2 separate regions of the Homo sapiens genome follow, and region 2 is linked to region 1. The links are contacts of gene promoters, found by promoter capture Hi-C in human tissues and cell types (Jung and others, 2019). All regions are on one chromosome and are shown on one strand. Each heading gives the region's core, a stretch centred on a gene start or on the middle of the fragment in contact. The rest is flanking DNA. Distances are from core to core; before and after follow the strand shown. Region 1 holds the start of ZNF443 (zinc finger protein 443). Region 2 holds the start of ZNF440 (zinc finger protein 440).

The links. The method cuts DNA at HindIII sites, captures the fragments that hold promoters and counts their contacts. A contact is called where the count stands out against the background at its distance.
Region 2: the fragment with the promoter of ZNF440 here is called in contact with the fragment with the promoter of ZNF443 in region 1 in 2 of the 25 tissues and cell types used here (IMR-90 fibroblasts and lymphoblastoid cells).

What each region holds. Positions count from the first base shown.
Region 1 is chr19:12,438,524-12,445,294 of GRCh38, reverse strand. ZNF443 (zinc finger protein 443) reads left to right here and starts at 4,274. Exons shown (of 4, transcript NM_005815.5): 1 at 4,274-4,383. The coding sequence starts at 4,381. RefSeq lists an enhancer at 3,826-4,095 and a silencer at 4,506-4,595. The HindIII fragment of the contact is 16,773 bases long and covers 1-6,771 here.
Region 2 is chr19:11,811,088-11,817,858 of GRCh38, reverse strand. It overlaps ZNF440 (zinc finger protein 440), which reads right to left and starts at 3,586. Exons shown (of 4, transcript NM_152357.3): 1 at 3,409-3,586. The coding sequence starts at 3,411. RefSeq lists silencers at 3,182-3,251, 3,672-3,751, 5,486-5,595. The HindIII fragment of the contact is 18,958 bases long and covers 1-6,771 here.

The DNA of each region.
Region 1 (6,771 bases), core at 3,025-5,524:
AAAATAATAACTACAACAACTTTTCAAAACACAGACAGTACAAGCAATATATAAATAGAAACAAAGAAAAGTTAAGAAGCGGGTATGATGTTAAGGCATAGAGTTTTCATTAGATTTCTTTTTGTTTGTTTCTTTGTTTATACAACAGCATTAAGTTGTCATCAGCTTAAAATTATGGGTTATAAGATAGTATTTGCAAACCTCATGGCAACCTCAAGTCAAAAAATGTACAACAGATACACAAAAAATAAAAAGTAAGAAGTTAAATCATACCACAAGAGAAAGTCACCTTCACTAAAAAGAAGACAGGATGGAAGGAAAGAAGGGAGAGAAGATGAAAAAACAACCAGAAAACAAATAACAAAATGGCAGGAGTAAGTTCTCACTTACTAATAATAACACTGAATGTAAATGAATTAAACTATCCAATCAAAAATCATAGAATGGCTAAATGGATTAAAAAAACAAGACCTAATGATCTGTTGCCCACAAGAAACACACTTCACCTATAAAGAAACCCATAGACTGGAAATAAAGGAATGGAAAAACATATTCCATGCCAGTGGAAACCAATAAAGAGCAGGAGTAGCAATACTTAGACAAAATATATTTCGAGACAAAAACTGTAAGAAAAGTCAAAGAAGGTCACTATGCAATTATAAAGAGGTCAATTCAGCAAGACGATGTAACAATTGTGAACATATATGCACCCAACATTGGAGCACTCAGATATAGAAAACATATATTATTAGGTAAAAAGAGAGAGGGCCGGGCATGGTGGCTTATGCCTGTAATCCCAGCACTTTGCGAGGCCAAGGCAGGTGGATCACCTGAGGCCAGGAGTTCAAGACCAGCCTGGCCAACATGGCAAAACCCCGTCTCTACTAAAAATACAAAAAATTAGCCAGGTGTGGTGGTGGGCACCTGTAATCCTAGCTACTTGGGAGACTGAGGCAGGAGAATTGCTTGAACCTTGGAGGTGGAGGCTGCAGTAAGCCAAGATTGCACCACTACACTCCAGCCTAGGCAACAAGAGTGAAACTCTGTCTCAAAAAAAAAAAAAAAAAGAGAGAGAGAGAGATAGACACCAATACACTAATAGCTGGAGATTTTAACACCCCATATTCAGAACTGGACAGATCTTCCAGACAGTAAATCAACAAAGATTATTTCAATATATACTGAAAAATTGGACAAAAGAAAGATTAAATGGGATTTAATCTACACTATAGATCAAATGGACCTAATAGATATTTACAGCACATTTTATCCAACAGCTACAGAATACACATACTTTTCCTGAGCACAGGAATCATTCTCAAGGATAGACCATATGTTAGGTCAAAAAACATGTCTTAAAACGCTCCGAAAAATTGAAATAATATAAATTGTGTCACAGAATAAGTGGAATAAACTAGAAACCAATGACAAGAGGAATTCTGGAAACCATACAAACATATGGAAATTAAACAATACGCTCCTGAATGACGAGTGGGTCAATGAAGAAATTAAGAAGAAAATTGAAAAGTTTCTTCAAACAAATGATAATGAAAATGCAACATACCAAAACCTATGGAATACAGCAAAAGCAGTACTAAGAGGGAAGTTTATAGATATAAGCACCTACATCAAAAAAGAAGAAGACCTTCAGGCTGGGTGCAGTGGCTCCCATCTGTAATCCCAGCACTTTAGGAGGCCAAAGGGAGTGGATCACCTGAGGTTAGGAGTTCGAGACCAGCCTGGCCAACATGGTGAAACCCTGTATCTACTAAAAATACAAAAAATGACATGGTGGTCGGTGCCTGTAATCCCAGCTACTTGGGAGGCTGAGGCAGGAGAACTGCTTGAACCCAGAAGGCAGAGGTGGCAGTGAGCTGAGATTGCGCCATTGCACTCCAGCCTAGGCTGCAAGAGTGAAGTGAAACTCATCTCAAAAAAAAAAAAAGAAGAAGAAGAAAACCTTCAAATAAACAACCTAAGAATGCATCTTAAAGAATTAGAAAAGCAAGAGCAAACCAAACCCAAAATCAGTAGAAGAAAAGAAATAATAAAAATCAGTAGAAATAAATGAATTTGAAATGAAGAAACAATAGAAAAGAACAATGAAACAAAAAGTTGGTTTTTTGAAAAGACAAACAAAATTGACAAACCTTGAGGTAGACTAAGAAAAAACCAGGCCCAAATAAATACAATTAGAGGTGAAAAAGGAGACATTACAGTTGATACTGCAGAAATTCAAAGGATCATTAATGCAACTAAGAACAACTATATGCCAATAAACTGGAAAACCTAGAAGAAACTGATAAATTCCTAGGCAGATAGAACATAGCAACATTGAACCATGAAGAAATAAAAAACCTGAACAGACCAATAACAAATAATGAGATCAAAGCCATAATAAAAAGTCTCCTAGCAAAGAAAACCCCAGAACCCAGTGGCTCCACTGCTGAATTCTACCAACATTTAAAAAAGAACTAATACCAATCTTACTCAAACTATTCCAAAAAACAGAGGAGAAGGCAATACTTCCAAATTTATTTTACAAAGCCAATATTACTTTGACACCAAAACCAGACAAAGACATGTCAGAAAAAGAAAACTATAGGCCAGTGTCACTGATGAATATTGATGCAAAAATCCTCAACTCAATACTAGCAAACTGAATTTAACAATACACCAAAAAGATCATTCATCATGACCAAGTGGGCTTTATCCCTGGGATGCAAGGATGGTTCAATATATGCAAATCAATCAATGTGATGTATCATTTCAACAGAATAAAGGGCAAACACCATATAATCATTTCAATGTGCACTGAAAAAGCTTTTGATAATATTTAACATCCCTTCATGATAAAAACCCTAAAAAAAAGTGGGTAAAGAAGGAGCATACCTTAACATAATAAAAGCTATATATGGCAGACCCACAGCTAGCATGATAATGAATGGGGAAAAACTGAAAGCCCTTCCTGTAAGATCTGGAACACAATAAGAATGCCCACTTTTACCACTGTTGTTCAACACAGTACTTGAAGTCCCAGCTAGAGCAATAAGACAAAAAAAAAAAAAAGAAAAAAAAAGAAATAAAGGGCATCCATATTGGGAAGGAAGAAGTCAAATTATCCTTGTTTGCATATAATATGATCTTATATCTGGAAATACCTAAAGACTCCACCAAAAAAGTATTAGAACTGAGAAATAAATTCAGTAAAGTTGCAGTATACAATATCAACACACAAAAATCAATAACATTTTTATATGCCAACAGTGAACAATCTGAAGCTACTTGAGAGGCTGAGGTGGGAGGATTGCTTGAGCTTAGGAGGTAGAGGTTGCAGTGAGCCATGATGGCCCCACTGCACTCCAGCCTAGGTAACAGAGCAAGACCCCATCTCAAACAACCAAAAATGTGTAGAAGGATGGTTACCAGAGGCTGCGAAAAGTAGTAGCGAGGAGTAGTTATGGGGGAAGTGGGGATGGTTAATAGGTATAAAAAATAGTTACAAAGAATGAATAAGACCTAGTATTTGCTAGCACAACAGAGTGACTATAGTAAAAAATAATTTAATTGTACATTGAAAAATCTTGAAAAATTTCATTGAAAAAGAGCATAATTGGAGCCAGGCGCAGTTGCTCACGCCTCTAATCCCAGAACTTTGGGAGGCCAAGGTAGGCGGATCACGAGGTCACGAGTTTGAGACCAGCCTGGCCAACATGGTGAAACCCAGCCTCTACTGAAAAATACAAAAATTAGCCGGGTGGTGGCGCGTGCCTGTAATCCTAGCTACTCGGGAGGCTGAGGCAGGAGAATTGCTTGAACCCACCCAGGAGGCGAAGGTTGCAGTGAGCCTCGCACCATTGCACTCTAGCCTGGGCGACAGAGCAAGACTCCCTCTCGAGGAAAAAAAAAAAAAAAGATATAATTAGTTTGTCAGTCCGTGTCCAGGAGGAAGAAGCAGGAGGTCCTATTGAGTACGGGCAGGAAATTCCGCTTAAGTGCAAATATAACCCGGGAGGATTCAGATCAAAGAGCAGGGAGGAAGCCCCCCCTGCCAAGGGCTGTGTCAGGAACTTGCTCATCCGGCTCCACTCAGCTGTGCAAGATCGCTTCTTCTGTCAATCAGCCCTCAGGGGGCGGGACCTGACGCCCTATCCAATCAGGGGCGTGGGGCGGGTTCGTGGGAACTGTCAATCAGGCACTGCCCAGAGAAGTGTGTGTGGTTGAAAAAGCCCGCGGCGTCTGCTCCACCCACCTGCGCTCGGCTCTGGGTTCTGTAGCTGAGAGACGACCTGGAAGTTCTGAGGCAGCCTTTGTCTGGCTGGAACACGCATTGGCAGCGGGAGCTGTCGGTAGGACCTGGGACACCGCGGAAGTCGGGAAATGGTGCGTGTGCTGGGCCGGCGTCCCGAGGCGGGGGAGGGGTTAGGTGGAACCGGCCGTAATCGGCTGTGGCTGGACCCGGGCCTCCCCAAGGGCGACTTCGGGATCTACGGACCCGGGTCCCCCTGGCGTAGGTCGGCCCTCGGCCGCAGGGTGGGGCTGGGCATGCAGCCGGGACCCCGGGCGTCCTGTCCCGTTCCTGCGCGGCGACTGCGGCCCCGGCGCCCTCTCTGGGCAGCTCCGAGCCCGCAGCCCCGGGTCTCCCCAGATTGTGCGGCTGTAACCAACACAGGTTCGCGGCCCGACTCACTGCACCGAGACGCCGAGGGCTGCAGCAGAAACGGTTTAACAGGAGGAGAGGGGAGGACACCCCAGATCCGCCTCCCTGAGGGATTTGGGGTCTGGACGGGGGCGGCTGGGTGTAGCGTCCTTGGTTGGTGGGGAAGTGAGGGGTGAATCCTGGGACAGGAGGTGAAGAAACCGCATTCTGCTGAGAGGGCTCCCTCGTGGGGTCTTCAACCTGGTTGGCGCCAGCCTTTCTGCTGGGATTCAGGATCTGAGAACTCCGGCGACTCTTGAGCAGCACTCGGAGATCTTATCCCCAGGCACAATGGGGAAGCCGGCGGTCAGCGTCTGCTGTGACCTGACTCTCAGGGAGGCGGCCCCTTGAGGCAGCGGGGCTGAGGGCACCTGTTTAATATCTAACTGCAATCTCGCCTCCAGCCTGGCTCGCAGTTCCTGTGAACCCGGTGAGGAGGCTGCACGGTGACGACGAGTCACCAGGTGGAATCCAGACTCGTGTGTGGGGTTTGTGTGTGGGAGGAGCTGTGGTTTCCGTGGTCCTCAGTCCTTTCTTCCTTTCCAAGGGCGACCGTTTCCCCTCTGAGTCTTCCAAAGACGTGGGCAGCAGGGTCTCAAATCCACCACTGTGTTCTCTCATCCTGACTCTTCCTAGGGCTGGCAGCAAATCTCTTGGTTTCCAGAGACTTCCCCAGGCTAACCTTCTGTCCTTAATTCACAGCAACAGTATGAACTGTTTGGCCCCAGGCGATATTTCACTAGTTTGTCATCTTGTTTTCAGCTAGCAATGTATGGCTTTTTCTTGAAAGAATTGTTTTGGGTTCCTGAACACGGTGGGTCATTCCTGTAATTCCAGCACCTTGGGAGGCTAAGGCAGAGGTATTGCTTGATCCCAGTAGTTCCAGACCAGCCTGGGCAACATGGCAAGACTTTGTCTCTAGTGTAAATGATAATAATAAAATTAGCTGGGCTTGGTAGCTGGCACCTGTAGTCGCAGCTACTCCTGAGGCTGAGGTGGGATGATGGCTGGAGCCCAGGAGTTTGAAGTTGCAGTGAGCTATGATCGTGCCTCTGCATCCCAGCCTAGGCAACAGAGGCCGACCCTGTCTCAAAAAAAATGGATGTCCACAGCTGCCAAGTCTCTTGGAGGGTCTAGTGAATATCATCCCCTGGGTCACTCCTCCCAGGGGACAGCCTGAGATGGAAGGTGTGGCCCCCTGGGGAGCAACTGGATCCACTGGGATGGGAGGAATCTTCTGGTATATAATTCCTGTAAAAAGCTAACTCCTGGGACACTCACCTTTTCTTCCCAACCCTAGTTTCCATTCCTTGGAGACACATGACTGAACAGCCAATTTCATGGTCATATTCCATAGGAAAAAAAACGGAAATGATTTTTGCCTTCTGGACTCTCTCAGACTTAAAAGGTAGAAAGTTATATCTAAGGACTGGAGAACCTGCCCTTTGAGGTAGTGCAAGATCCTGAAAAGCACACAAGGCAGTGTCTCCTAGGAGGGTGGTGAGTGTCTCCTAGGAGGGTGGCGAACAGAATAGGGTTAAGGGATGTCCCAGGTGATAGGATGACCTGCACTGATTGTTGCATTAGACTTTTCTGTGTTCCAGTCAGCACTGCTGATTCCTGAGTTTGTTAGCTTGAAAAGATATGTTTACTCTTTTCAGCCTAAATTTTTGATTAACCGTGAAATACATCCTATGATTAGAGATTGTTATTTTATACTTTGAAGACAAAGTATACCCAAAGTTGGAAAGAGTCGGACTTCAGAAAATAAATTTTATAAGTAATACTAGAAAGAGTTGGACTTCAGAATATAAATGGTATATGTAATCTTCTATTCCATTTTTTAAAAGCCTTTATTTATTTTTTTTGCCCCAGAGCTTGTGTAGTACGTTTCTCAGGTGTGTTTGTTTTTCGGATGATTTCAGATGGAATTTCAGGACTTAGTAGTATAACTACTACCAAGGGAAAAACCCTCTTCCATTATGGCTGCAAAAAAGGAATACATTTTTACAAGAAAGTGTAATAGGTACATTGAATTAAAAAGATTTAACAAAAGTTCAGTTCTTCTCCTT
Region 2 (6,771 bases), core at 2,337-4,836, 630 kb after region 1:
ACAGAGTAATAAATTTTGTGACGCTGTCAGCCCACATGCACGTAGGCACAGCTCAGTTTAGTCTTTTACATAGACAAGATCCCTACATAAGAAAAACTTAGACAGTACGTTCCTCCACTTGCTTTAGGAGGATGCCCTACTCTGTAAGAGAGGCTTTCTTTCTTTCTTTCCTTTTTTTTTTTTAAATAGAGACAGGGTCTCACTGTGTTGGCCACGTTGGTCTTGAACTCTGTCTTGTTTGTTTGTTTTGTTTTTGTTTTTTGAGATGGGGTCTCACTCTGTTACCCAAGCTGGAGTGCAGTGGCGTGTCCTCAGCTGGGCTGCAACCTCTGCCTCCCGGGTTCAAGTGATTGTCCCATCCAGCCTCCCGAGTACCTGGGACTACAGGTGCAGGCCACCACACCCGGCTAATTTTTGTTATTTTTGGAAGAGATGGGGTTTCACTATATTGCCCAGGCTGGTCTCAAACTCCTGACCTCAAGTGATCCTCCCACCTCGGCCTCCCAAAGTGCTTAGATTACAGGCCTAAGCCATCATGCTGGCCCAGAGTAGCTTTCAATAAACTCTCTTTGCACTGTACTTTCCGACTCGTCTTGAATTCCTTCCTGTATGAGATCCAAGAACTCTCTTGGGATCTGATCAGGACCTCTTTTCCCAGTAATATAAGCAAGAACTTAACTTCCAATTTTGGAGTACTGAGTCCATTTCTCTGGAGTCTGTGTTTTTCCCAAATGGGCCATTGCTATCTTTTTGCTTGAATAAACTCTTCCAGTTGAAATCTGAAACTTTCGATTATTTCGGGTTGACAAGTCCAAATAAGGTGACTGCATCTCTGCAACCAATCAAGCATTTATCTGGTTTGTCTCCTCATGTACCTTATAAAAGTCCAGCCTTCAACCTGTAAACTAAAAATAAAAACATACCTTCTGGCCTGGTGAGGTGGCTCACACATGTAATCCCAGCATTTTGGGAGGCCGAGGCCAGTGGATCACTTGAGGTCAGGAGTTCAGGAACAGCCTGGCCAACATGGTGAAACCCCATCTCTACTAAAAATACAAAAATTAGCCGGGTGTGGTGGCACATGCCTGTAATCCCAGCCACTCGGGAAGCTGAGGCAGGAGAATCGCTTGAACCCGGAAGGTGGAGGTTGCAGTGAGCCAAGATAGAGCCACTGCACACCACCCTGGGCTACAGGAGACTCTGTCTCAAACAAAAACAAAAACAAAGTACCTTCCCAGCTAAGTGAAGTGACTGGCTCTTGGCCAAGGGAACCCCCAAAAAACCCTGAAAATTGAGTGCCTCTGTATGACAGGATGGGAGGTGAGACAGGTCTCCTTATACCCTCTCCCTTTAGGAGTTTACATGCAGCAACTGACGCACATTCATGTAAAAACAGACATTATCTGACTGGAAAAACAGACTCCTTGTGGCAACAAGATACCAAATTACAAACAAGACCTAAGGCCACGCAAGGCAAAGGTAAAGTTACGCCTTAGAATTCATAAAATCTCGAGAAACAGGTCTGTTTTTTGGCTGGGATGGAATGAAGTGGCAGATAACAGACCCCCTTCCTTCAGCATTCCTTCCTACCTCCTCCAAACTTTAGACAAAGATTCAACACTCTCAACCAGCTGCCACCTACAGAATCCCTCAACTACCTGTGCCTTCTAACCCCCCTTCCACAGGTCCCACCCTTTCTGCCAATGGAACTTACACCTTCCAGGCACTGATTCATGATTTTCCCTGCAATTCCTGTCTCTCTGAAATGAATAAAACCAAACTGTCTTGAGCTGCCTCGGGACCACTTACTCCAGGCTGCTTGGGGTTGTGTTTCCCTCGGCCAACGGCTCTCCTATTCGGCTCCTAATAAACTTCTTTATTTTACATAGCTTGGCTTTTTCCGTTGACAAACCACAAGCCAGGACTGGGTGTTTCTCATTCGTGAATCGTTGTTGTTGTTTTGAGATGGAGTCTGGCTCTGTTGCCAGGCTGGAGTGACGCCGTCTTGGCTGACTGCAACCGCCGCCTCCTGGGTTCAAGCAATTCTTCTGCCTCAGCCTCTCAAGTAGCTGGGATTACAGGCACGCGCCACCATGCCCAGCTAATTTTTGTATTTTTAGTAGAGATGGGGTTTCACCATGTTGGCCAGGCTGGTCTTGAACTCCTGACTTCCTGATCCGCCCGCCTCGGCCTCCCAAAGTGCTGGGATTACAGGCGTGAGCCACCGCGCCCGGCCCTAAACTCTTTAATTGTTAACGTACCTCAGTTTAATTTTTAACAGAAAAAAGTGGGCACTGGGGACCCCAAAGACCGCTACTCCTCCCACACGAACCTGTCAGAGATGATAAATTACTTTTCTAAAAGCTTTAGTAAGCTGTTCTTTGTTTCTTGAGACCGACTTCCTTGTCTCCTAGCTACCTGTTCTGTAAACAACCTTCCCGCTTTTGCCGCGCCCAGACAAGTCCAGATACGCCTTCCCGCCTAGTAACGGACAGTCCCTGTTCCTTCCCGTCTCATAGACCCTATTTAATTTGTGTGTGTGTGTGTGTGTGTGTGTGTGTGTGTGTGTGTGTGACGGAGTTGCCCAGTTGTCTCGCTCTGTTGCCCAGGCTGGAGTACAGTGGTGCGATCTCGGCTCACTGCAAGCTCCACCTCCCGGGTTCACGCCATTCTCCTGCCTCAGCCTCCCGAGTAGCTGGAACTACAGGCGCCCGCCACCATACCCAGTTAATTTTTTTGTATTTTTAGTGGAGACGGGGTTTCACCGTGTTAGCCAGGGATGGTCTCGATCTCCTGACCTCGCGATCCGCCTGCCTCGGCCTCCCAAAGTGCTGGGGTTACAGGCGTGACCCACCGCGCCTGGCCAGACCCTATTTAATTTTAAACCTTAGCCTATCGAGTTAGTTTAGATTGTGAGGTCCAACCCTAGCCAATGAGGAAAGGACACAGAAGTGCTAGAAACTGCGTTAAGGAGAAAAACCCCTGCCCTACCCCGCTCGCTGTGCTCTTGTGACTGGCGCAAGCTGCACCCTTGTGTAGAAATAAATTTGCTTTGCTGAGGAATTTTCTGCCTAGATGCTGGTTTTCTTTGCGGCACCGGGCACTTGTTTCTAACAAACCCCATATCCGAGGCGGGATCCCCCCATATCCCTCCCGTGGCCCCCGCATAATGTGGGGAGACGCGGAGCTGCCCAGATTAGGCTCCGGAGCCGGGGCCGCAGTCGCCGTGAAGGGACGGGACAGGAGGCCCGGGGTCCCGGCTGCCGGCCCAGCCCCACCCTGCGACCGAGGGGACTCGCGTCCACGACCCCGGAGTCGCCGCGTGGAGGCCCGGGTCCCGCCTCAGCCGGTTCCGGCCGATTCCAGCCCCTCTCCCAGTCGCCCGGACGCCAGCCCCCTCACACACACCATTTCTCGGCTTCCAGGGTGTTCCGGCGTCCTCTGCGTGGCTCCCGCGACTAGTGTAGGTCACAGTGCAGGTTACAGAGCGACAGAAGCTCTGGTGGAGGCACCTAGTCCCTCTCGAAGCAAGAAAGCCGAGATCCTGACCGCTGTCGGCGCAGCACTAAAGGAATGGACGGAGGGCGACTGTCCCTTCCCCCTTCCCCGGATGGACAGTTGACAGGGCCCCGCCCCAGCACCCCTGATTGGATGGGGCGCCAGGCCCCGCCTCCTCCGTGCTGAGTGACAGCAGAAGCCCTGGGTAACCGGGTCCTGCAGATCATGTCTGACTTGTTCTGGCCACAGCGTCTCTGAGCGAGCAGCCTCTCTAAGCGAGCAGCCTCTCTAAGCGAACAGCCTCTCTAAGCGAGCGCCTTCCTTGAGCCCTGGTCATCAGATATTTGCATTTCAAGGCGACTTGCTCCTTATTGTTAGAAGAGGCACTGTTAGCTTCCTCATTCAAGGGGCTGTCCCTGCTCCTTCCTTCTGCACGGGATCACAAGTGTGTGCAGGGCATTTCAGACTCAGTGTTCAATGGAGAGATACGCTTGCCTCAGAGCAGGAGGGGAGCCCAGACCAGGCAAGGCACGACTGCACCAGGAGAGAGAGGCAGATGTCTTCCAGCGTGCGGGAAATGGGATGAGGCATGGCCAAGGCTTCCTCACACTGCTATGGACTCCAGCAAGGTTTTCCTTGTAAGGGAGCTAACCAAGCCAGAACTTATTAAAGATTTAGAGGCTCTCAGTACTATGTATATCTATCCCTGGTGCATTGACAGTGACTGAAGACCCATTTTTCAGGACATGCTGTGTAGGACTGAGCCAGGGAACATGATATAGCATGGCACTTTTATCTCACATATAACCCCCAAGGAGCAGGGTTAACTGAAATGAAAGATGGTCTCAGGGGAAGCTGTAAATGAGAAATTCTGTCATAGAAATTATGATTTAGGCAGGCCGGGCGCGGTGGCTCATGCCTGTAATCCCAGCACTTTGAGAGGCTGAGGCAGGTGGATCACGAGGTCAGGAGTTCAAGACCAGCCTGGCCAACATGGTGAAATCCTATCTCTACTAAAAATACAAAAATTAGCCAGGAATGGTGGCGCATGCCTGTAATCCCAGCTACTTGAAAGGCTGAGGCAGGAGAATTGCTTGAACCGGGAGGCAGAGTTTGCAGTGAGCCAAGATCGTGCCACTGCATTCCAGCCTGAGACACAGTGAGACTCCATCTCAAAAAAAAAAAAATTATGTTTTAGCCATCTTTTTTTGAGACGGGGTCTCACTCTGTCGCCCAAGCTGGAGTGCAGTGGTGCGATGGCTACTCAATGCAGCCTCAACCTCCCAGACTCAAGCAATCCTCCCACCTCAGCCTCCTAAGTAGGTGGGACTACAAGTGCCTGCCACCATGCCTGGCTAGTTTTTTATTTTTGGTAGAGATGAGGTCTCATTCGGTTGTTCAGGTTGATCTCAAACTCCTGAGCTTAAGTGATCCTCCAGCCTCAGCCTCCCAAAGTGTTGGGATTACAGGTGTGCGCCTGGCCTCTTGGGCATCTTCATTGCTCCACACCTTACAATGATAAATTCAATATTCTGTGAATATTTCCTGGAGAAATTAGCACAGCCATAACTTGTGATAAGGTAAATCAGGTGTTGAAATTTGAACATTCCTGGAAACTTCATTTAATAAACCTAATTTTGCTTATGTGTGAAAGTATTCATACATATTCATTGTTCAGACACAGATAACCATGGCAAGATGAGGTGCTATGAAAAACTATGTTGGGACAACAGGTACTATCAAGGATTATCACTGGCAAACCGGGACACATGGTCAGATGATTTCTGAGGCAGTTTTGTACCTTATGTAAAGGTAGAAAGTGTTGGAACTAGAAGACATCGAGCTGGAGTCAGTTGCAGAATTGATGCTTTGCTTGGCATGTGGGGGACACTTCTCAAATATTTGCATTTGGTCACAGAAGTATTCCGTGTTGTGTGAGAGCAGAGGAAAAAGAGTAGACTTTTTTTCCACTCTTAAGTCTCAGCACAACTCAGAAATCCAGTCCCCCAGACAGGATGTGTGGATGTTAAAGTCGCCCTCACCACAAGAGGGAGCTTCATTGACTTCCCCTATCTGGAAAATGGCTCAAAGGTGTTTTCTAAAAGACTTTTTAATGTAAGGCATATCAGTTATTAGAAATAAAGGTAGGACAGGTGTGGTGGCTCACACCAGTAATACCAGCATTTTGGAAGGCCAAGGTAGGAGGATCGCTTGAGGCCAGGAGTTTGAGACCAGCCTGGGCAACATAGTGGGACCCTGTCTCTACCCGAAAAAAGAAAAAAAGTTAAGGTAACATCACTGAATTTGGTTTCATTTACATGATTTTTCTTTTCTTTTCTTCTTTCTTTCTTTCTTTCTTTCTTTCTTTCTTTCTTTCTTTCTTTCTTTCTTTCTTTCTTTCTTTCTTTCTCTCTCTCCCTCTCTCTCTCTCTCTTTCTTTCTTTCTTTCTTTCTTTCTTTCTTTTTTTTTTTTTACAAGGTCTCCCTCTGTCACCCAGGCTGGAGTACAGTGGTGCAAACAGAGCTCACTGCAGCCTTGATCTTCCGGACTCAAGCAATTCTCCCACCTCAGCCTCCCAAGTAGAGCCTGGGACCACAGGTGTGCGCCACCAAGCCCAGCGAATTTTTGTATTTTTTGTACAGATGGGGTTTCACTGTGTTGCCCAGACTGCTCTCCAACTCCTGGCCTCAAGTGACCCTCCCACTTTAGCTTCCTAAAGTGCTGGGATTACAGGTTCTGAGGCACCATGCCTGGCCAATTTAATTTTTCATAGATTGATTTTTAAAAAGTAATGAACCTGGCTGGGCATAGTGGTCATGCCTGTAATCCCAGCACTTTGGGAGGCTGAGGTGAGTGGATCACCTGAGGTTGGGAGTTCGAGACCAGCCTAGCCAACATGGTGAAACCCCATCTCTACTAAAAATACAAAAATTAGCTGAGTGTGGTGGTGCATGCCTGTAATCCCAGCTACTAAGGAGGCTGAAGCAGGAGAATCGCTTGAACCTGGAAGGTGGAGGTTGCAATGAGCCGAGATCACACCATTGCACTCCAGCCTGGGCAGCGACAAAGAGAGACTCTGTCTCAAAAAAAGAAAAAGAAAAAGAAAAAGAATAAGCAATAAACCCTGTGAACTTTGATTAGATTTCCCAGATCCTAAAAAGTGCAGTGTAACAAAAAACTGAATGGAAAGAAGTAGGACTAACTGAGGTGAGAGGAAGAACCCTCTGTGGAGGTGACATTTGAGGTGACCTGATATAATGTATTAGTATAAA